Regions from separate parts of the Homo sapiens genome. Here all the other regions are linked to region 1. Evidence: promoter capture Hi-C in 16 types of primary human blood cells and fetal thymus (Javierre and others, 2016). All regions are on one chromosome and are shown on one strand. Each heading gives the region's core, a stretch centred on a gene start or on the middle of the fragment in contact. The rest is flanking DNA. Distances are from core to core; before and after follow the strand shown. Region 1 holds the start of GJD4 (gap junction protein delta 4). Region 2 has its middle 330 kb from the start of ANKRD30A. Region 3 has its middle 250 kb from the start of ANKRD30A. Region 4 has its middle 270 kb from the start of ANKRD30A.

Evidence for each region. Contacts are between HindIII fragments. The CHiCAGO score rates a contact against its expected background, and 5 or more counts as called.
Region 2: a contact is called between a fragment that was not itself captured here and the fragment with the promoter of GJD4 in region 1, in 1 of 17 cell types (endothelial precursors). The highest score is 7.6, in endothelial precursors.
Region 3: a fragment that was not itself captured here is called in contact with the fragment with the promoter of GJD4 in region 1 in 3 of 17 cell types (endothelial precursors, M2 macrophages and M1 macrophages); the score reaches 6.7 in endothelial precursors.
Region 4: a contact is called between a fragment that was not itself captured here and the fragment with the promoter of GJD4 in region 1, in 1 of 17 cell types (endothelial precursors). The highest score is 5.4, in endothelial precursors.

Annotation. Positions count from the first base shown.
Region 1 is chr10:35,602,267-35,607,710 of GRCh38, forward strand. It overlaps GJD4 (gap junction protein delta 4), which reads left to right and starts at 3,075. Exons shown (of 2, transcript NM_153368.3): 1 at 3,075-3,365; 2 at 5,312-5,444. The coding sequence starts at 3,302. GJD4-AS1 (GJD4 antisense RNA 1) reads right to left here. Exons shown (of 2, transcript NR_199600.1): 1 at 5,260-5,444; 2 at 2,296-3,699. The HindIII fragment of the contact is 9,701 bases long and covers 1-3,771 here.
Region 2 is chr10:36,794,555-36,800,086 of GRCh38, forward strand. No RefSeq gene overlaps it. Among named protein-coding and RNA genes, the nearest start is that of ANKRD30A, 330 kb to the right of the region's middle. The HindIII fragment of the contact is 3,067 bases long and covers 1,515-4,581 here.
Region 3 is chr10:36,874,630-36,880,024 of GRCh38, forward strand. No RefSeq gene overlaps it. Among named protein-coding and RNA genes, the nearest start is that of ANKRD30A, 250 kb to the right of the region's middle. The HindIII fragment of the contact is 7,453 bases long and covers 1-5,086 here.
Region 4 is chr10:36,854,029-36,859,201 of GRCh38, forward strand. No RefSeq gene overlaps it. Among named protein-coding and RNA genes, the nearest start is that of ANKRD30A, 270 kb to the right of the region's middle. The HindIII fragment of the contact is 1,120 bases long and covers 1,276-2,395 here.

The sequences.
Region 1 (5,444 bases), core at 1,825-4,324:
TGCAGAGAAAGTACATTCAGAATGTGTTAGATGGGTTTCATTCAGATGTGAGTGATAGTGCTGTGGGCCATGATTTAATGTGAATGGGTTAATATATGTTTAATATATATTAAATAAGATTTATTTGAACAGACACACACATAAAATAAGGCAATGTGTTAATTGATTGGTGAAAGTGTTGTCACCTAACTGTGTATTTCCCCAAGGAGCCCCTAGTATTCACTATTGCAGTGCTGGTGGTAACTTTATAAAACATAGCTACTATGAATAATGAGAATTGACTGAACTCATCATATTTTGAGAGCTTCTTACCGGGCAGATAATGTGCTAGAACCTTATTTAAATGAACACTAATTCTCAACCCTGTACGTTTAGTATCATTACCCCAGTTTATAGATGGTAAAACTGAGGCCTAGATAATTTGCCAAAGTCACTACACTAGAGAGAGGTGAGGCCAAGGCTGAGTGCCATGTAGTGCTATTGTTCTCTTTCCTTTTTGCTAACACTTTCTTCTTTTTTCTAGATACAGGGTCTTGCTTTGAGGCCCAAGGTAGAGTGCAGTGGCATGATCATGGCTCACTGCAGCCTTGACCTCCTGGGCTCAAGTGATCCTCCCACCTCAGCCTCCTGAGTAGCTGGGATCACAAGCATGCCAACACTTGGTTAATTTAAAAACATTTTTGTAGAGATGAGGCTCTCTATGTTGCCCAGGGTGATCACTTGAACTTCCGGCCTCAAGTGATCCTCCATCCTCGGCCTCTCAAAGTGCTGGGATTACAGATGTGAGCCACAGGGCCCATGCTGACCACTTGCGTTTAGTGAACTATCCCAGTTTGGCATCTTGTACACTTCAGCCCGACTCCCAGCTGGTTTCTTTGGCCATGGGTTGAACACAGCACTCCCCACATCTTCTCTCTAATCCACAGACACATACAGAAACCTTCCCATCGGTGCTGGGATGCTCTTACAGAGAGTCGGGAGTTGATGCCCAGATGCCTCCACCTTCTCTGCTTCCCTTACCTCCAGCTAGCTTCAGGTAGCCACTGGAGTTAGGATTTCTTTTCTTTTTTGAGATGTAGTCTCGCTCTGTCACCCAGGCTAGAGTACAGTGGTGTGTGATCTGGGCTCACTGCAACCTCCGCCTCCTGAGTTCAAGTGATTCTCCTGACTCAGCCTCCCAAGTAGCTGGGACTACAGGTGCCCACCACCATGCCCGGCTAATTATTGTATTTTTAGTAGAGATGGGGTTTCGCCATGTTGGCCAGGCTAGTCTTGAACTCCTGACCTCAGGTGATCCACCCACCTCAGCCTCCCAAAGTGCTGGGATTTACAGGCGTGAGCCACCGCGCCTGACCAGAGTTAGATTTCCAAGTAAAGCAAAATGTCACCTAGCAGGAGAGAGGAAAAAAAGAGAAAGAGAAAAAAGACAAGGAATGGGGATGGGGTAGACTTCAAGGAGGAAGAGCAAAGGTGACCAGGATGAGAAGGGAGATGGGTGGGCATGGGCTGCTCAGAAGATGCCCTGAAGGGTGGGACCAGAGGAGCCAACCCTGAGAAGCGCCTGTCACTGACACTGGGTCATTCTTTACATTTCAAAATCATTTTCACATCTCTGGTCACATTTGCATATCACAGTCACTGTGAGTGGGTGAAGAACACATTCTTTTTTTCTGCTTCACTGATGAGAAAACCGAAGCATGAAAAGCTGCAGTGATTTGCTCATGGTCGCGCAGGGCTAATTTATTCCACATTTGGGATGGGCTATTTCTATCACACAGCAAGAGTCAGTAATTGCTTTCCTGATATTTCATTTTTTTTTTAAAGCCAATACCATGAGCAGTCTATTAGGAGACAAATTCTCCTTTATTTTATACTTACACCCTGTGACTATTTCAATATTTTTACTTAACTACAATTTCTCAAATTTCCTTGCTCATGTCGAAGCATTTGACTAAAATATAGCAAAACCACTGTTCCTTTCAAGGGGGTCAAAACGTTTTCCGTGGATGGGAGCATGTCATGTGAGCAAAGATGAAAGTAGCTTTGTTGCACTCTTCTGGGAATCTTTCTAGGGATATTACTAAAGTCAAGAATAGATCAGAAATGAAGAAAAGATGGGGATATAAAGAATAGCTTTCATGGAAAATTGAAATCATTCCTTTTAAAGTTTACAATTTCCACCCTGATCATAGATCCCCAACCCTGCAGGATGGGTTCTTCCCAGATATGAAGGTGGCTGCAGCGATAGGATTTTGACGCAACTGTGATTGATGTCAGCAGGTCCAGACCGTGATATTTCATGACAGATTTAACAGACATTTATTAAGTAGATTCAATGGGAACAGCTCCAGGCTAGATGGGGCTGGGAGATACAAAGGGAAGATGTAATCTGTGAAGGTCGTAGAGGCCAATTAGGGATTGAAATCCCACGGATATGGGTTGTCGTACACCCACTTCACACCAGTTGCTCTTATTCTACACCATCATTTCACATAAGCCTCCCACAAATGGCAAGTGGAATGGCATGATTCTCCTTATTGCAAGATGAGGCTATCTGGAAGGATCCAATGACTTCCCCAGTGAGTAGGGGGCTGCCCCGGGCTTTGCACCCAGGCTTTTGTCTCCAAGCGAAGAGTTGTCACTCACTGCACAGGAAGCAGCAGGAGAATAACCAAGTCACGGTCTAAAGTTGGGACACCCAACTGAGTTTCAGATTTCTGCCTGCACCAATGACACAGGAATTCAGAATAAGGGCGAGATCCTTGTGGGTTCGTGTGATGGTGGCATGGCGATTCATGCTTGATTGAGAAGACAAAACGTGAACACTTTAAGGGCTTCTTGCACAAGTGAAGTGGTTGTGGAAATGTTTTCAAGGAGGAAATGCCTTTTTAATAGAGAAATTTACTTGGCTAGTTAGCAGAAGTTTTCTTTCTTGGGTTAAAAGTAGTTGCTGCTATTATATCCTGAAGCATCTGGCTGTCCTGGTGGGGACATATGAGCGCTGCCACAGGCCGGGAATATCCCAGGCGAGTAAGAATAGCCCACAATAAGAGATGACTGCTGCTTGCTCTGCTGGTCACTGCAGTTGTCAGGAATGTTTCGCCTCAGAGGCAAACGGCTTAGGGCCGTCTCAACTTGGAGACAGAAAAACCCACCTCCTACTCCTGGCTCAGACCTTTGCTTTCTTATCTCCAGCTCACACCTTTAAGTCTTATGTAGTTAAAGGACATTTATCCGCCTCCTTGGAGAACACAGCCCTCCAGTGTCTCCTGCAGCCTGGAGCCTGGGACATTCTGGAAGCATGGAAGGCGTGGACTTGCTAGGGTTTCTCATCATCACATTAAACTGCAACGTGACCATGGTGGGTGAGTATTGGGACCATCTCCAAACTCCTGCGCTGTTTTTATTTCCACTGCCATGGTGGAATTGAGTCCTTAAAGGGTCCAGGTATTTACTCATTTTCAGTGTGCAAGCACCAAGCTGAAAGTCCACCCACTCCCAAAAGAAAGGGCTGTGCCTTTCTGGAGGGAAGAGAGCTGAGGCTTCTAGTTTCTTTGAATGGTTCCGCGGTTCCTCCGTCATGTAAGGGAGTCTTGCGTTTGACATTGTTCTCTCACAGATCATCCTGTGCTGACACTGGGGTGCTGACTCCAAAGACCAAAGCAGGTGGAGGGGTGTTTGTGTGCAACCCTGGTGTGGCTACGTTACCAGGAAAAGGAACAGAACAACAAATGTTAATCAGAAGGTGATACCTTTAGGTTTTATTCTGGAAGCTTGGTTTTTTTTTTTTGTTTTTGGAGACAGAGTCTCACTCTGTTGCCCAGGCTGGAGTGCAGTGATGCAATCTCAGCTCACTGCAACCTCTGCCTCCCGGGTTCAAGTGATTCTCCTGCCTCAGCCTCCCGAGTAGCTGGGACTACAGGCGCCTGCCACCACGCCCAGCTAATTTTCTGTGTTTTTAGTAGAGACGGGGTTTCACCGTGTTAGCCAGGATGGTCTCGATCTCCTGACCTCGTGAGCCACCCGCCTTGGCTTCCCAAAGTGCTGGGATTACAGGCGTGAGTTACCACGCCTGGCCTGGAAGCTTAATTTTTAAGGAGTAGCCATTTCTCTTGTGCACTTTAAACCAAATCCCAAGTTTAGTTATTTTTTTTAACAAAGAAAATAATAGATTTTTGTTTAATGCAGACGACTCACATTTTCAGAGAGGTATGGGGGTCAGAAAAGGATGAATATATGCCGGAGATGCAGTTGATACTTTTCTGGCTCATTATTTTGTAGATTTAGACAAAACCAACTTGATGTTAAAAGTTCAACTCAATGACTCATCACATAATGATATTATTCTTTGTTTGACTGTCTTTACATATTTATTTTTGTTTTGTTTTTATGATGTCAGGCGATGTTTCTCTCATCACAAAACACAATATTCACAAGTTATTTTGGCTGAGTTTTAAACATGTTTCGAAACAGTTGGCCGGTGCCATGAAAATAGGGCTTGACAGTTATTTTGGTTTTCTAGCTTGGTGTCATTCCTTCACGATACATTGAAGAAAGACAAGCCCCATTCATTCCTAATAACTGGAAAAGGGGAAGAGGAATTCTGAATGATTAAAAAATCTGAAAAATGGAATGTTCATAAAGAAATTCAATTTCAAGGGCCGTAGACTAACATTAAATACAAGCCCTGTGATTAAATAGAGATCCCTGGACTGTTGTCATAAGTAAGATTTACTGAAATCAGCAGCTCGAATTGGCAGTTACAGAAATACACCAACCTCTTTTAAAAGGCTTATTCTCCTAAGAAGAAAATTTAAATCTTATTTAAATCATTAATTTGCTCAGCCAAACTTTCTTTCTGGACCTATCAGTCCAGGAGACATTACCAAAAGTCTGAATTAGCAGACAGATTAAAACACTTTTAATATAATGCTTTTTAAAAATCTACTCATCTTGAAGCATCTTACAAACAAGGATGTTCAGTGCTCAGTAAATATTTGTCAAATGAACTACCTGATGCTGTGAGTAAAGACAAGCTGACAGGTGTGGTGGCTCATGCCTGTAATCCCAGCTACTCAAGAGGCCAAGGCGGCAGGAGCACTTGAGGCCAGGAGTTCAAGACCAGCCTGGGCAATATAGCACGACCCTGTGTCCAACAACAACAACAACGACAACACAAACAAACAGAAAACTAAAGACATGCTTATTGACGTTTCAATTTCCCAATCTCAGCCCCAATAGACACTTTAAAGCTGTTACTCAGGGCAGTGTATTCGGGGTGATGAGGCCATGCCCGCTTCCTCTCTTCCAGGAAAGCTCTGGTTCGTCCTCACGATGCTGCTGCGGATGCTGGTGATTGTCTTGGCGGGGCGACCCGTCTACCAGGACGAGCAGGAGAGGTTTGTCTGCAACACGCTGCAGCCGGGATGCGCCAATGTTTGCTA
Region 2 (5,532 bases), core at 1,798-4,297, 1.2 Mb after region 1:
GAACTGATTAAGCAGTTACTATCTGCCTGATAGGAAGTATATAGGCATCATTTTGTTTAATATTGAAACAATCTCATGAGGCAGGCACTATTATTATTATTCCATCCATTTTACAGACAACAGAACTGAGGCTTATGCAGCTTAAGTCATTTTTTCAAGGGTTTTCAAGTCACAAGGGCTGTTGTTAGTATGTGGTTGAATGAGGACTTTAGGGATGCCTACCCTAATTTCAGAATCCAAACTCAGAGGGTAGCCAAAAGTGCTGGGTGCTATAATGACATCTCATTGGGATGGGCTGAAAAGTGGCCATAGGGCTAGGCTATAAGAGTTGGCACAGTTTCTGCAGCAAGAAGGAGAAGAACACAAATGACAGTAGTGTGAAGATACAGGACATGAGATAAAGAGAGGATTCCATTATCATAACAGGCCTAATGAGCCACAGTAAAGCCCTAATTCACGAAACACCACACAGTGAAGAGAATGTCACTACCTGTTATTTAAATATCCTCTAAGAATGCTGAAAAATGATAAATGAAGAATGAAACTTATGAGGCTCAGTGGGACAAATTCTCTAAGCCATACTTTCTTCACTGAAATTGATTAATTTTCCTTAAGAAATGACATCATTCTCATGAGGTAATCTATGATTCGTTGGTCTAAGATAATCCAGTGGGCGACAAGGGTCATCTCTCAGTGGAAATCCTATGTTTCCATCTATACATTGCTCTATTTGATCAGTTCACTCTTTCTAAGTTCACCCTTTCCTGCATCTCCTGTCTTCTACTAGATTTTTATGCCAACTGGTATGACCATGTTTGAGGATTCCCTAATAATTAGACCAAGTGTGTCAACTCATGTACTTTTTTATCTCAAAAAGAATATATAAAGAATTTATCTTCTAATGAATATGTAGAAGAACTGTGAAAAATAAAACATACAAAATATACTATTACCATTTTATAGCATTTGTTTTGATACTTGAGTCACATCTAAGGCTAAACATAAAATCTCTGCTAAATACAGCAGAAGGCATAAGAAAATCTAGTTGAAAAGGAAACATAGTAAAAATACTAGTTAGATCCATAGAAGGTGGGTGTATTTTCCTAATATACTGACATGATCTCTCATATCTGACTAAATTTGTTGTATATGCATGTGAAATTTCTCACTACCTCTTAATACCTTCTAAATAAGAAAATTAGCTGTGTTTGGCTTTTTCCTCCTATCTACCAACTCCCTAATCAAAAATAGTGATAAAGCTTTTCAGTTTAAAACAGATTTTTAATTTAAAATCCACCTGAAATTTATCAGAAGATTATTGAGTGCTTTAAAATCTTAGTAAACATTGAAATCTGAATTAAGAAAGGTTAATTGATAAAAAATTTATGACTCAGATTCGTGTTTATGAATCCACCTAAATTTCCTAAGAATACCTTTAGTGTTTAGCGTGCAGGTCCTGGTCTTGTCTTTGTCTTTGTGGGTTTTCTGTTTGCTTGTTTTCATTTTTGTTTCTAAGCTTTAAGTTTTAGTAATTTTTTTATGTTCTGAAAATCCTGTGAGAGAAAAACTATTGAAAAAGATTACAAATGTACAAAATTCTCCCTTGATATTTGATTGAGAGTACTTTCTGCATACATACAAGATATATAGTCTTCTTTTATTTATTATTTATTATTTATTTATTTATTTTTGAGACGGAGTCTCGCTCTGTTGCCTAGGCTGGAGTGCAGTGGTGCGATCTGGGCTCACTGCAACCTCCGCCTCCCGGGTTCAAGCAATTCTTCTGCCTCAGCCTTCTGAGTAGCTGGGATTACAGGTGTGAACCACTACGCCCAGCTAATTTTTTTTGTATTTTTAGTAGAGATGGGGTTTCACCATGTTGGTCAGTTTGCTCTCGAACTCCAGACCTCAAAGGATCCGCCCACCTCAGCCTCCCAAAGTGCTGGGATTATAGGTGTCAGCCACCGTGCCCAGCCCTAGTCTTCTTTTAAAATAGCACATAGAAGGACTTCATATATGCTGGGATAAAGACACATGCTTCCATCAAGTTCAGCATCTGGAAAAGGTAAGGGAGGAGGTCATCACAATAGTTTCTGTTTTCGATACATGATATCAGTGACATCTGTCTGACATGTTATCTGTATATATTTTTTAAAGAACTATATGCCTTATGGAATGTAATATTTAATACTGAATTTGAATGAACTTTGTCAAATAACATTCATTTGAATTTTCTACAAACATATCTGAAAGAAATCTCAAAGAAAATTAATCTCATTTTTTCAAATATTAAGTATGTGAAAGTTATAATGAAAGATCAAAAGAAATAAATGAACCTGTTTTTATTTTTATTTTTTGTTTTAAAGCTAAATGTGCTTTATTGAATTGTAATGAAGAGTAGCATCTGTTTTGTAAAGGGTGTAATGAGGGCAGTCCTTTACTTGGATGGAATGAGGCACGATAACTTCTAGGTGAATAGATTTCTGTGCATTTGTTGGGATGTGAGCCATTGATGACAAATTTGGTGACAGTTCACAGCTTTTTAAGTTGCTTACTATAAGATCTTCCATACACTTTACATGTGAAAAACTGTTGTTTCAGTTTTGGTCATTAGAAACACTTTCAGTTGGCTCCAGTGTGCCTTTGTCATATGTTCATTATTGCAGGTTTTTTTTTTTAATTTGATTTGCCAGCTTTCTTCACTTTCTGGCACTACTACATGCTCCAGGCTCACCTTGTCTATTTTCTGTACCAGTCCTAGAATCAGCCATTGTTTCAGTCAGTTGGGGCTTCTATAACAATTATGTCATCGACTAGGTGGCCTAAACAAATATTCATTTCTCACAATTTTGGAGGCTGGGAAGTCCAAAATCAAGGTGCCAGCAGATCTGGTGTATGGTGAGGTTTGTATTACCACATGGTGGGAAACAGAGAGAGAGAAAGCCCTCTCACATCTCTTCTTATACGAGCACTGATCTTATAAATGAGTTCTCCACCTTCATGACATGGTTACCTCCCAAAGATTCCACCTTCTAATGCCATGACATTGGAGATTAGCCTTCAACATATCAATTTTGGGGGTAAACAAACATTCTGTTCATTGCAGCCATTTATCCAAAGATCACTGAATCATTTTATTGGAGAACTGTGTTAGCAACCAAGATCTGGGTACTAGGCATACTCATTTCTACCTGGATGTTGTTGCTTCTAGCCCTTCTCAGCTGACAAAGAAAATAACTACATATGTGAATACAAAGTCATTTGTATGTACGTAATTACATATATATTTTATACTCTACATCTGTATTAAGCTAAACATGATTTCATGCTGATATTTCCAATTCTGATCTATTACATATGGATCATTCTAGCCTTCTCCTCTTATGTTTCTGTAGTCTCTTACTCCAACAGTGAAAAACCTGGCTTCAGTCATCATCCAATCAATGATTTAATTGTTTGATTCTAGTGTACATGCATAGCAGTATCAGAATTGTTAGCCTGTACTCCTGTAAGAAACACCTTTATCAACTAGAATACAGTGTTACCTACTGTTCCTTTTCCCTTGAGTTTTACAAACCTCACTCATTTCTTAAATTACTTTAGTGAGCAACTTTTCCCCACTGTTGTTGGTGAGGTTGCTTCACAGGTTTTTAATACAGTTAGATTGTTTTGTTACATTCTAACTTTCTTCATGAGCTGCTAAATAATTCTCAAAATTTGCATTCATTAAGGTTTATTATCAGTGTCAGTGCATTTTGACAAATGCATAATGACATGTATTCAAAAATAAGGTACCATAAAGATAGTTTATCCACCTAAAAACCTCCTGTGCTCCCTCCCTAACTTAAAAGATTTTATAACTCACTCTCTTCCTCAAGAGGGAGGACATAATATTAACCTATATTTTGATGTATATGGACTTCCTTTGGCTTATTTTTACCTTTCCAGACACATCTTCAGAGTCATATTCAGACTCAACAATTGTGCACTGAATGCAAATCAAACTGTTTGTATTTTTTCGAATATATCATCTTGCAAATTAATCAACACTAAATACTTCCTCCCTCTGCTCAAAAGGCCCTTCTAGCCGTGAAAGCCTAAACAATTTCTGCAAATTCTTCAAAAATCACATCAAATGTTGCCACTGTCAGAACAGACCTCCTCGATCATATAAAACAGGAGAGTTAAAATGTATTCTCCATTTCATTTATCCCTCTATAGTTTTTTATTTGTTTTCTTGTTCCTTTCACTAGAATATCCTTGAAGAAAGATGTCATGATATTCACATGTATGTCTCCAGTGCCTGTCAGAGTATCTGACACAATATTTGCATATTCAATAACTATGAGTCAAAGAGACAATAGAGTGAATGAATGAATAAATGAATGAATGAGGGAGAGACTGAATGAGTGAAACATACATATTTATTTCTGATTTCAAATTTCAAAAGTTGAACTATATGGAAGTTGAGGCTACCCTAAGTCTAAAATGGTGAGTCACATCTTCTCAGGGGAGTTTGAAAAGCCCTAGGTCTAACCACTTGAGGACCACTGGATCTATTCATGGAAGGCTTATGAACGAAGCTTGATAAAAACTTTGTTCCCTTAGAGTTGATACGAAGTTTTCTTCTTGCTTTGACTTATTAAAAAATTTTTAGGCCAGGTGTGGTGGCTCACGCCTATAATCCTAGCACTTTGGGAGGCTGAGGCAGGCAGATCATGACGTCAGGAGTTCAAGACTAGCCTGGCCAACGTAGTGAAACTGCGTCTCTACTAAAAATACAAAAATTAGCTGGGCGTGGTGGCTTGTGCCTGCAGTCCCAGCTACTCAGGAGGCTGAGGCAGGAGGATTGCTTGAGCTGGGGAGGCGGAGGTTGTGGTGAGCCGAGATCACACCACTACACTCCAGCCTAGGCAACAGAGCAAGACACCATCTCAAAAAAAAATTTTTTTTTAAGAGCTAAATATCTCCATATGACAGCCCAACCTTCTGTGAGTATACATACAACTCTAAGACTGATTTTCTGGCCAAATGGAGAATTTGGATAATATTGCAAGGCAATAGCAACACTTATCTCACAGGAATCTCTTCTGTCCTTATTTTCAAACTTTCAATACACAAATTTGGTACAAATATTAAGTACAGATATCATTGTATTAAGTACAAATATCACCACTGAAATTCTTTATTTCACAGGCTTCCACATAAACCAATAAAACTAATTTAAAGTCTTGCAGTATATTCCAAGACCTCTTCTCCATGTCACCTAGAATAACCACTCTGTAAACATTCAATGTCAAGCTTAAGTGCTCAAAAATTGAAATTTTGCTTTAATAAAAAGGATATTGAATGCAACTGAGGAAAGAGTTCCAACTTTCTTTGCTAGATCCTCCAAATAAAAGAACCTATTATGCCAAATCAAAGCAGGTATTTCTATTGACGAATGCTAACACCTGCATATCAGGCAGGCTGGGTGATGTCATTCATCTTTTCTGTGCTAAATTCAGCAATTAGCCAAAGAACAAACTTGTG
Region 3 (5,395 bases), core at 110-2,609, 1.3 Mb after region 1:
CAGTGGCGCGATGTAGGCTCACTGCAAGCTCCGCCTCCCGGGTTCACACCATTCTCCTGCCTCAGCCTCCAGAGTAGTTGGGACTACAGGCGTCCACCACCACGCCCGGCTAATTTTTTTTTTTTTGTATTTTTAGTAGAGACGGGGTTTCACCGTGTTAGCCAAGATGGTCTCGATCTCCTGACCTCGTGATCTGCCCTCCTCGGCCTCCCAAAGTGCTGGGATTACAGGTGTGAGCTACTGCGGCCAGCTGGAAAATATAAATTCTAAAATAAATTCTATATTCTTTTCTTTGAAAAAAATTAAGTGTATTTTATAACATTTTACCTGACTCCATTGTTCTGTCTCAGAACTCCCGAATATTATAAGCAAATTTATTTGTGTATATATAGATGCACATCTTTCTGGAGTGTGGGTACAGTAATCTCCAACAATGATTTTTACTTTTAGTGATCCCAAAATGATGAAGAATTACTACTGTATAATCTCTTTTCAACTTGAAAAACAATGTGATAGAAGTGTCTGGCTTTCCATTTATTGTGGTTTTTTTATTTGAAAAGAGCCTAAATCAAAGCTCTTCGGTTATAAGAAACAGAAGCCCAAATGACTGAGCTGAAGCAGATCAAAGCTGTCTATTAATCAGGGCAAACAACAGAAAGAAAATCCAGTTGTTTTAAACAGACACCTAATTTATTGGATGAATGTCATGGAGTTCCCAGATTTGGCTGGAAGGTTGAGGAACCAGGTTTAAAAATATAGGCAGCAGCTGGGTGCAGTGACTTGTGCCTGTCATCTCAGCTACTCAGGAAGCTGAGGTGGGAGAATTGCTGGAGCTCAGGAGTTTGAGAACAGCCTGAGCAACTCAGCAGGAGCCATCTCTAAAATAAGGAACATAGACAGAAACTGAGGCATACCATTGGAGGAAAGTCAAAATCCAGACAAGAAAAGAGTATGATTAGGGCCTTGTTGCTTCTAGCAAAGAGCCCTGCAGGACACAGCAGTGCTGGTAGAACCAGCACTGGGCTTTACCAGTTCTGCAGATGCTTGAAGAAGCTGAAATAAGTCTTAATCACCTGATTATCTGCAAAATTAAATGTATATCATTGTTCTTGGTCATAGAAAAAATATTGTTCATCAATATCCTTCACAATATCTGTCTTGTCCATTTTGTGTGGCTTTAACAGAATATCATAGACTGCATAATTAATAGTAAAGAGAAATGTATTTCCTACAGTTCTGGTGGCCGACAGGTCCAAGATTGGGAAGCTCGCATCTGATGGGGCCTTCTTGCTGTGTCATCTCATGGTGAAAAGCCAAAAGGCAAAGAGTATAAGAGAGAATAAGAGGAAGCCAAACTCATCCTTTTATAAACTACTCCCATGATAAGGAACCCACTTCTGCAATAACAGCCTTAATCCATTCATGAGGCTGGCATCCTCATGACTTAGTCACTTCTTAACTGTTCTACCTTTTAACACTATTGCAGTGGGGATTAAGTTTCCAACACATGCTTTTTGGAGGACACATTTAAACCATAGCAGTATCTTTGTGCATACTTGAAAACTGAGCTTTAAGGCTGTTCTTCAAATTTAGAAGACTAGTTCTCTTCTCATGCAATGTGAATTTCCAGAGAATGTAGACAATCCATTTATTGTCCAGAGAATGTAGACAATCCAAAGCCGTTGTCCAGCTTTTAGGAGGACAACGATAGCAGTCAAAACAGCCCTCCTAATGTATATGCATTCACATATCGACATTTTGTATTCTCAACGTCAAAAAATTGTTACATTTCAATGAATGAAATACCAATTATCATTTATATTCATCCTCTTAAGACCATTCTCTATCTAGATCTAAGACAGACAAACAGATCAAATAAAATTATCATAGAAAATAAATTTAAGTGAGAAAAAGCATACAAGAAGATCAAGATAATATGGTTCAGATTTTAAAAATGTATCTATTAAAATGCTATAAGAACAATTATATGACTAGATAAGTCAGATGAATATAACATTCAAAATAATAATCTGAATATTTTTGCCAAATATCATTTTGGTCCATTACGTTGATGATATTTGGGTAACTGGGCCGGTTAGCAGCAAGTTCCAAATAATCTAGACCCTTGCTACTCAGAGTGGTCCACGGACAAGCAGTATCAACATTGCTTGGAAGTTTGCTAGGTATGCAGAATCTCAGGCTCTATCCCAAACTTGCTGAGTTAGAATCTGCATTTTACCAAAATTCTTAGCTGATTGCCATATACATTTAAGTATGAGAAGCATTATTCTATTTCTCAGTTATCCTTATTTTTTAGGACTTTTAACTAGGGAGGAGTAAGGATTAAGAACAATCACCTGGGGATACTTTAAAAATTCTCACAGGTTCTAGAATACTTGTGGAGTAGAATAGGCACAGGTAGTCTATTAATAGCATGGATGCTATTTAGAAATCTCCTCAAATAAACATCTTAACTGTTCTCTCTGGTGGTTTGAGAATGTCTAACACAGAAATGTCCAGTCCTTAAAAGTAATTTCTAAGTTTCTGCTCTACCTTGGTATTTAAGAGCACAAATCACCTATTGGATCTAACTAGTTCTGTGACCCTTATCAATTTAGTTAGTAACTTTTTCACTCATTTGCCTTGTCTGTCAAGTGGGGATAATAATGATACCTATGTGATAACGTTTTAACATAAGTAAATGAATATATGAATGTAACATGTTTACCACTTTCCTGGTACAAAATATACACCAATAAGAAAATATATGATTATGCTGGCTGTAGTGGTGGGAGTAGTGGTGATAATGCTCTCTAACACAGAAGATTCCTTAGTATGTTTTGATTTAGAAATGCACAATAATTTAGTGTATAATTCCCAAAATTTAATTACAAAAGTGCAATTGTTTTGATGATATGGTTTTCCTCACATAATCAAATCATGCATACCTCCTCATTTATTAAAGAAATTAATGTTCAACAATATAAGCGTTTCTCTTAAAGGCTGTATACAAAGAAGCTATTTCTGTCAGAAACTATGAGAATTTCCCATTACCAACGTGGAGATGGAGTCAATGACAAAATACTGGGGCTAGTTAGAAGAGGGATAAAAGGTTTCTGTCTACCCAACGGCATACTCCCTACCTCAGACCTGCGCCTTCACTATTCAGAAGAAGCTGTCCCGGTGACTCCCGCCTACCCATGTCTATTTGTCTGTTTCTTTCCCTGCATTCCTTCACAGTCCATTAGTGAAACATTGTCCTCATTTATGTGGAAACCTACTTATTCATTATTGCAAAACCATCGGGGATAGAAGTAGATTAGCAAGGTGTCCTAAAATATTGACTTTTGAATACTAAAGTCAAAAGGAATGGGTAAGAAAGAACTTAAGAGAGTCATGCTCCTTGGGAATTGGTTATGCTTTTTTCCTCTGTTTTTCAAAAATTTATGTTAGTGTATGCATCAAATAATTTATGACTAAACTCTCTTACATATATTCATATAACTAGGAAAGAGCATCATACATATTTTTATCTCTTTCAGAACTTTATAAAACAAATGGCAATCACTAGAATATGGCTAGAGACTGTGACAATCATTCCACTCTTCAGTTTAAGGTCTGAAGTGAAAATTGAAACAGCAATCAGGTGAACGGTAACTGGGGCCAAGGAGAATTTATCCATGCAGTGTTATTAGCAAAACGCCTGGTCTAATTTATTTAAAAGATGAGGAACAGAATAAAATTAATTAAAACAACACAATCTAAAACAACTTTTGAACGTTTAAAAACACCCTACAGCATTAATGGAAAGGAATAATTCAGAAGAAAAACATGTTTTTAGTATAAAATAAACAGGAAAATATCAGTCCAAGAAATATAATTAAATTTCAAAAAGCATGAGCTTTTTATTTAAAAAAAATCAAGAAAACACTGACTCTGTTGACAAGAGGGATGAAAAATATGAGAAGCCAATGGAAAGAGCTACAAAGGGACCTGACTGATGGGTGTGCCCATGGAAAGAGAGGAGCCAGCTGACCCGCCTGTGGGCACTTGAACCAGAGCCTCTGGAAGTGTTGACTTAGAAGCTAGTCCCATGGAGGAAAGACTGGCACAGAGTAGGCTGTCAATCAATACTACTTAAATCTGTTAGGAAAGAGAACGGATGGTGCAGAAGTACACACAAAAATGAAAACGCTAAGGAAATGAAACAAACAAGACTCTAATTAAATGACTTGTTTATTGGAGTAGAAAGCAGAGTTCACATTGCAAAAATTGAATCAGTGATATTGGGACACGCGTAAATAAAAGTTTATCCATTTAATAGGTAAAAAGAACAGAGTTATGCCTTTTATATTATTAAAAGATATATACCGCACTCAAAAATAACTTTATGCATTAAATAGAAAAACAGTAAAATATATATAATTGACACTTAGAAATACAGGTAGAAGTTAAGAGACACCAATTCATGGGTGGAGACTTCCAAAATGCTTTCATAAAAACACTTAAATAAACTAAATACACCCACAGTTGAAAACATTTTCTAGTAATTAAAACTTATATATTCCAAAATTTAGTATTTTAATCATGAAAGTGTGTTTCACATACTCATGTGCACTCTAAACATTTTGTAAGTTAAAAATGTGACTTTTAAAACTTGAAAATATAATTTGTTACGCATCTTCAAACAGGAAGTTTTAAATGGACCAGCAGCACAATGTGACTTCGAGTCTCTCTCCTAATGCCTAAATGTAATGTTATGCTCTAAATTGTATCCTGGAACAGAAAATAGACAATAAATAAACTGAGGAATTCCGAACAAGTATGATCTTTAGATATCAATAGTTCATCAATACTGATTCATTAATTATATCAAATATACCATAGTAAGATATTAATAATAGAGAAAACTGGGTTTGGGGCTTTACAGGAACACCATACTATTTTCACACATTTTCTGTAAATCTAAAATGGTTCTGAAATTAAAATTCTATTTAAATCAATTGCAATATATAAAATTAATTAAATCTGAATTGTGGAAAATATCGCTTTTATTCAAATTTTCCTTGACAGCTTTTTAAAACAAAGCTTTTGTTTTCTATTTTTAGGTGAAACTGCACGCATTTTCAGTCAAACTGTTTATTTGTAACAATATGTGCAATAGTAAAAGCTTTATAACTTCCAGAGTCATAATAATGGAAAACAAAGCACACTGTTGGTTTTATTTTTGGAAAGTTATATGAAACATATAACCTCTTATTTAAGATTTATGATAACAATTCTATGGTATTCAGTAAGGGACTATAATTTACATAAAATATAAGTTGATTTTATCTCAATGATTGTGAAAAGATTAACAAATATCCAAGCTAAAGTAAGAATCCATATCTAGATT
Region 4 (5,173 bases), core at 586-3,085, 1.3 Mb after region 1:
TATATTTTGTCTTCCTTGTGATTGTTTTAATAACATTTTATTTTCTCTAGCTTGCTTTACTGTAGGATATAGCATACAACACATATAACATACAAAGTATGTTTTAATTGACTGCTTATGTTTTCTATCAGTAAAGCTTGTGGTCAGCAGTACGCTACTACTAGTTCATTCTAGGGGAGTAAAAGTTATACTATATTTTTGACTGTGTGGGGGTCAGCACCCTTAACAATGATAGAATTTTCTATTCCTGTCCATTTTTGCTTTCTGTACTTTGCAACTCTGTTATTAGCTGCACAAACACTTATGATGTTATGTCTTATCTTTTATTTGACCCCTTTATAGTTGTGAATTGTTTTGTTTTGTCTCTATTAATACTTTTGGTATTAAAATGTATTTTTTCCTGATTTTGATGTAGCCAAATCCTACACAAATGTGCTTACTATTTGCATGGTAAGTTTTTTTCCTTCCATTTACTTTCAACTACTTGTGCCAGCCCCTGCCTACCACCATTCTACTCTCTGTTTCGGTGAGTCTGACTATTTAGGGTACCTTATGTAAGTAGAGTCATGAAATATATCTACTTCAGTAATGGGCTTATTTCACTTAGCATAGTGTTCTCTAGGTTTATCAGTGTTGTTAAAAATAACAGAATTTCCTTTTTTAAGGCTGAATAACATCCACAGTGTGCATATACCATATTTTCATCTATCAGTAGACATATAAGTTGTCTCCATGTCTTGGCTACTGTGAATAACACCGCAATAAATCAGAGAGTGCACGTATTTCTTAACGATAATGATTTCAATATTTTTGGATATATATCCAGAAGCTGGATCGTATGGTATTTCTATTCTTAATTTTTCAATGAATATCTATACTGTCTTCCATAATGGCTGTACCATTTTACATTCTCATCGTGTACAAGTGTTCCAATTTTTTCACATTTTCACCACACTTGTTACATTTTTCAATAACAGCCATTTTAACAGATATGAAGTGTCATTGTGGTTTTGATTTTAACTTCCCTGATAATTAACAACTTTTCATATACATGTTGTTCATTTGTATGTCTTCTTTGGCAAAATGTCTATTCATGCCAATTGCAAATTTTTAAAAATCAGCTTATCTGATTTTTTGCTACATAGCTATAGGAATTTCTTATGTATTTTGGATATTTGGATATAAACTGATCAGATATATAATTAGCAAATATTTTCTGTCATTTCATAGGTTCTCTTTTCACTCTGTCAGGTTTCTTTTTCTTTTCTGTACAGAAGCTTCTTAGTCTGATGTCTTTCCACTGGTCTATTCTTGCTTTTGTTGCCACTGCTTCTGGTGTCATATCCAAGAAATCATTGCCAAGACCAATGTCATAACGATTTTCCCTTATTTTTTTTTTTTGTAAGTTTTACAGTTTTAGGTCTTACTTTTAAGTCTTCAATCTATTTTAGTTGATTTTTGTTTGTGGTGGAAGATAAGTGTCCAATTTCTTTTGATGTGGATATCCAGTTTCCCCCACCCTATTGAAGAGATTATCACTTCCCCATTGTGTATTCTTGAGAACCTTGTGGAAGATCAGTTGAGTGTAAGTGCCTGTGTTTATTTCTGAGCTCTTTATTCTTTCCCATTGGCCTTCATGTCTGTTTTTATGACATTACCATACTGTTTCAATCTTTGTAATATATTTTAAAATCAGGAAGTGTGGTACTCCCTGATTTGTGATATTTTCTGATTTCAATCAGGGAGTATCAATATTTGCTCTTTCTCAAGATTGCTTTGGCAATTTAGGGTCTTTTGTGGCTCCATATGAATTTTAAGATTTTTTTTGTATATCTATAGGATTGCCATTGGGATTTTGATGGGGATAGGATTAAATTTGTAGATCACTTTGGGTAGTATAAACATTTTAACAATATGAGGTTCTCCAGTCCACAAATGTGGTATGTCTTTTCATTTATTTGCATCTTTAATTTCTTTCATTAGTGTTTTGTAGTTTTCAGTGTACAAGTTTTTCACCTCTTTGATTGTTTGTTTCTAAATATCTCATTCCTTTAGATGCTATTGTAAATAGGATTTTCCCCTTGATTTACTTTTCAGATATTTCATTGCTAATGTACAGAAATGCAACAAATTTTTGTACATTAATTTTGTATATTACAACTTTAAAAATTAGTTTATTGGTTCTAAGTATTTTGTGCTAGTGGATTCTTTATAATTTAATTTTCTACATGTAAGATTATGTTATCTGAAAAAATAAAAATAATTTTATTTCTTTCTTTTGTGTTTGCCATTTATTTTTTTCTTGTCTAATTGCTCTGGCTAGGACTTTTAGTACTATGTTGAATAAAGGTGGTAAATATAGGCATCCTTGCCTTGTATTGCATCTTAGAGGAGAAGCTTTTAACTTTTCACTTATGAGTATGCTGTTAGCTGTGGGCTTGTCATATATAGCCTTTATTATGTTGAGGTACATTTCTTCACATTGTGTCTCATTTATTGAGGGTTTTTATTGTGAAAGTTTGTATTAGTCCGTTTTCATACTGGTGTAGAGAAATACCCAAGACTGGGTAATTTATAAAGGAAAGAGGTTTAATTGACTCACAGTTTCACATGACTGGGGAGCCCTCAGGAAATTTACAATTATGGCAGAAGAGGAAACAAGTAACTTTATTACAAGATGACAGGAGATAGTGTGAGCAAAAGCAGGGAAAACTGCCTTATCAAACTATCAGACCTCATGAGAACTCACTCACTATCACGAGAACAGCATGCGGGACGCCGCCCCATGATCCAATCACCTCCTGCCAGGTATTTCCCTAGATACATGGAGATTATGGGGATTACAATTCAAGATGACATTTTGGTGGGGACACAAAGCCAAAACATATCAAAGTCATTGAATTTTTAAAAACATTTTTCTTCATCTATTGAGGTCATCATGTAACTTTTATCCTTCTTCCTGCTAATGTGTTCTATCAAATTTAATGAGTTCATGTCCTTTGTAGGGACATGGATGAAATTGGAAATCATCATTCTCAGTAAACTATCGCAAGGACAAAAAACCAGACACCCCATATTCTCACTCTTAGATGGGAATTGAACAATGAGAACACATGGACACAGGAAGGGGAACATCACACTCTGGGGACTGTTGTGGGTGGGGGGAGGGGGGAGGGATAGCATTAGGAGATATACCTAATGCTAAATGACGAGTTAATGGGTGCAGCACACCAACATGGCACATGTATACATATGTAACAAACCTGCACGTTGTGCCCATTTACCCTAAAACTTAAAGTATAATAATAAAAAAAAAATTGGCAAGAGTTTAAGAGGTGGATTAAAGAAGAGAACTTTTTTACTGAAAGGGAAAATGTTCGTATTTATGCCAATTTTAATTAATTCATTAATAGCCAGACAGTCTGAAGAAGATTGAGGTAAAATAGAATGGTTTGATATGGTACTTGTATGAAGAATGACAGATGCCAGAGAAGAAAATACAAGTAGAAATAATACCCAAGATCATCAGATTTTGTCATTGATGCTGAAATATTTCCACCAAACAGGAAAGAATATATTGTTTAAGACTATTACTGAAAGCGTCGTGTTTATTGGATGTCTATTGTTCCAAATATTTTTATAATCTTCTAATTTTTAGCCTAATCTTGACATGAATACATGTCAAATGCTTATTTTAAAGATAAGTCATGAACATGTCATTGAGCATGCTCTATATATTGTGCAGTACTTCCCTAGGCACTATGGGGAGATAATGACAAGGCATACTTTCTAATACCAAGGAGGGTCAATGCTGTGTTTTGCAATGGAAGAGAGGATCACTGTATGGGTGGCCAGAATCAAAAGAACAATTAATTAGAGGAATGGCAAATTTGGAATTTCTTTACACAGAGGCTCAAAGTCAGAGGGTCAGTAAATACAAAAAAAGGGTGTCAAAATTTATAAAGGCTGAGTTTGAGACTATGTTACAAATGTTTATCCTCAATGACATATGAGAAGAACATATCTGATGGTATTATCAGATACCAGATACTTTGAACATTAGTAATAGAATAAGGTAATCAATAAAAAATGAAATAGCTAGGCAATCTAATATAGGATCAGATGAGCATGAAGTTCAACCTAGCAGGAAAAGCAGAATTGGAATAATTTTTCCAAAAAGAGAGGCCAGTTCAGATTAAGGGGATAAGAACTGGGTTTTAAACATACAAATTATTTTTTCTTATAAACACCACTCATATAAAGACATAAGATGTAATAATCACATATAAAAATATAAGAACTAGTTTTAAATTCATTTAAGTGACTGTGTAACTGAACATGTGTTTGGAGTTCCCCAAATCTATATAACACATAAATTATTATTTGTCATACACTGTCCCCCAGAGTCCCACATAAAAGGGGGAGAAAAATGACATCCAATATTTTAGTGCCCCTCCAATTATCACAACCACTTTTTAGACCTAATGGAGTAAACTGTGTCTTTATTTAAAAGACACTGCTTCTTGGAGGCTCATATCATTCAGTTATTGTACTTTCTATACTTTCCCGTCATAGTCATTTTTGTATTTGTTTAGTTTTGCTGCATGACAAACTGCCTTAAACCTAATGACTTATAAAAACAATCATTTGCTCAACTCATAATTCTCCAGGACAGCAATTTGGACTGTGCTCAGCTGGGCTGTTATCTGGTCTCAATTGGAATCACTATTGCTTTTAGATTAACTGAGAGGTGACTAGACTAGGACAATAACAGCTGGGACCATGTATTTCTTCTTGATGTCATCTGTCATTCCCCAGCAGAGTAGCCTAGACTGATTCATATGATGGCTGGGAGGGTTATACAAGAAAGCAAGTGGAAACATTCAAGATTTTTGAAGCCTAGGCTCCAAATTGGCTTCCATCCTTTCCACCACATAATAAGTACATCCACTGAGACAAATTATGAGATGAACACAAATTCAGGGGCACAGGAAATAGACTCCTAGATGGGAAGATTTAAAGAGCTTTAATTGTCAAAGACATGGATACAGAGAGACATGAAGGCTCATATTCATGCTTGCAAGCTCTTACTCTTTCTCATCTTCTGATGTCCTCTCCTCAGGCAATGATTTTCTTCTTTGAATCATGACCCATGTCATTTCCCCAGCACCAG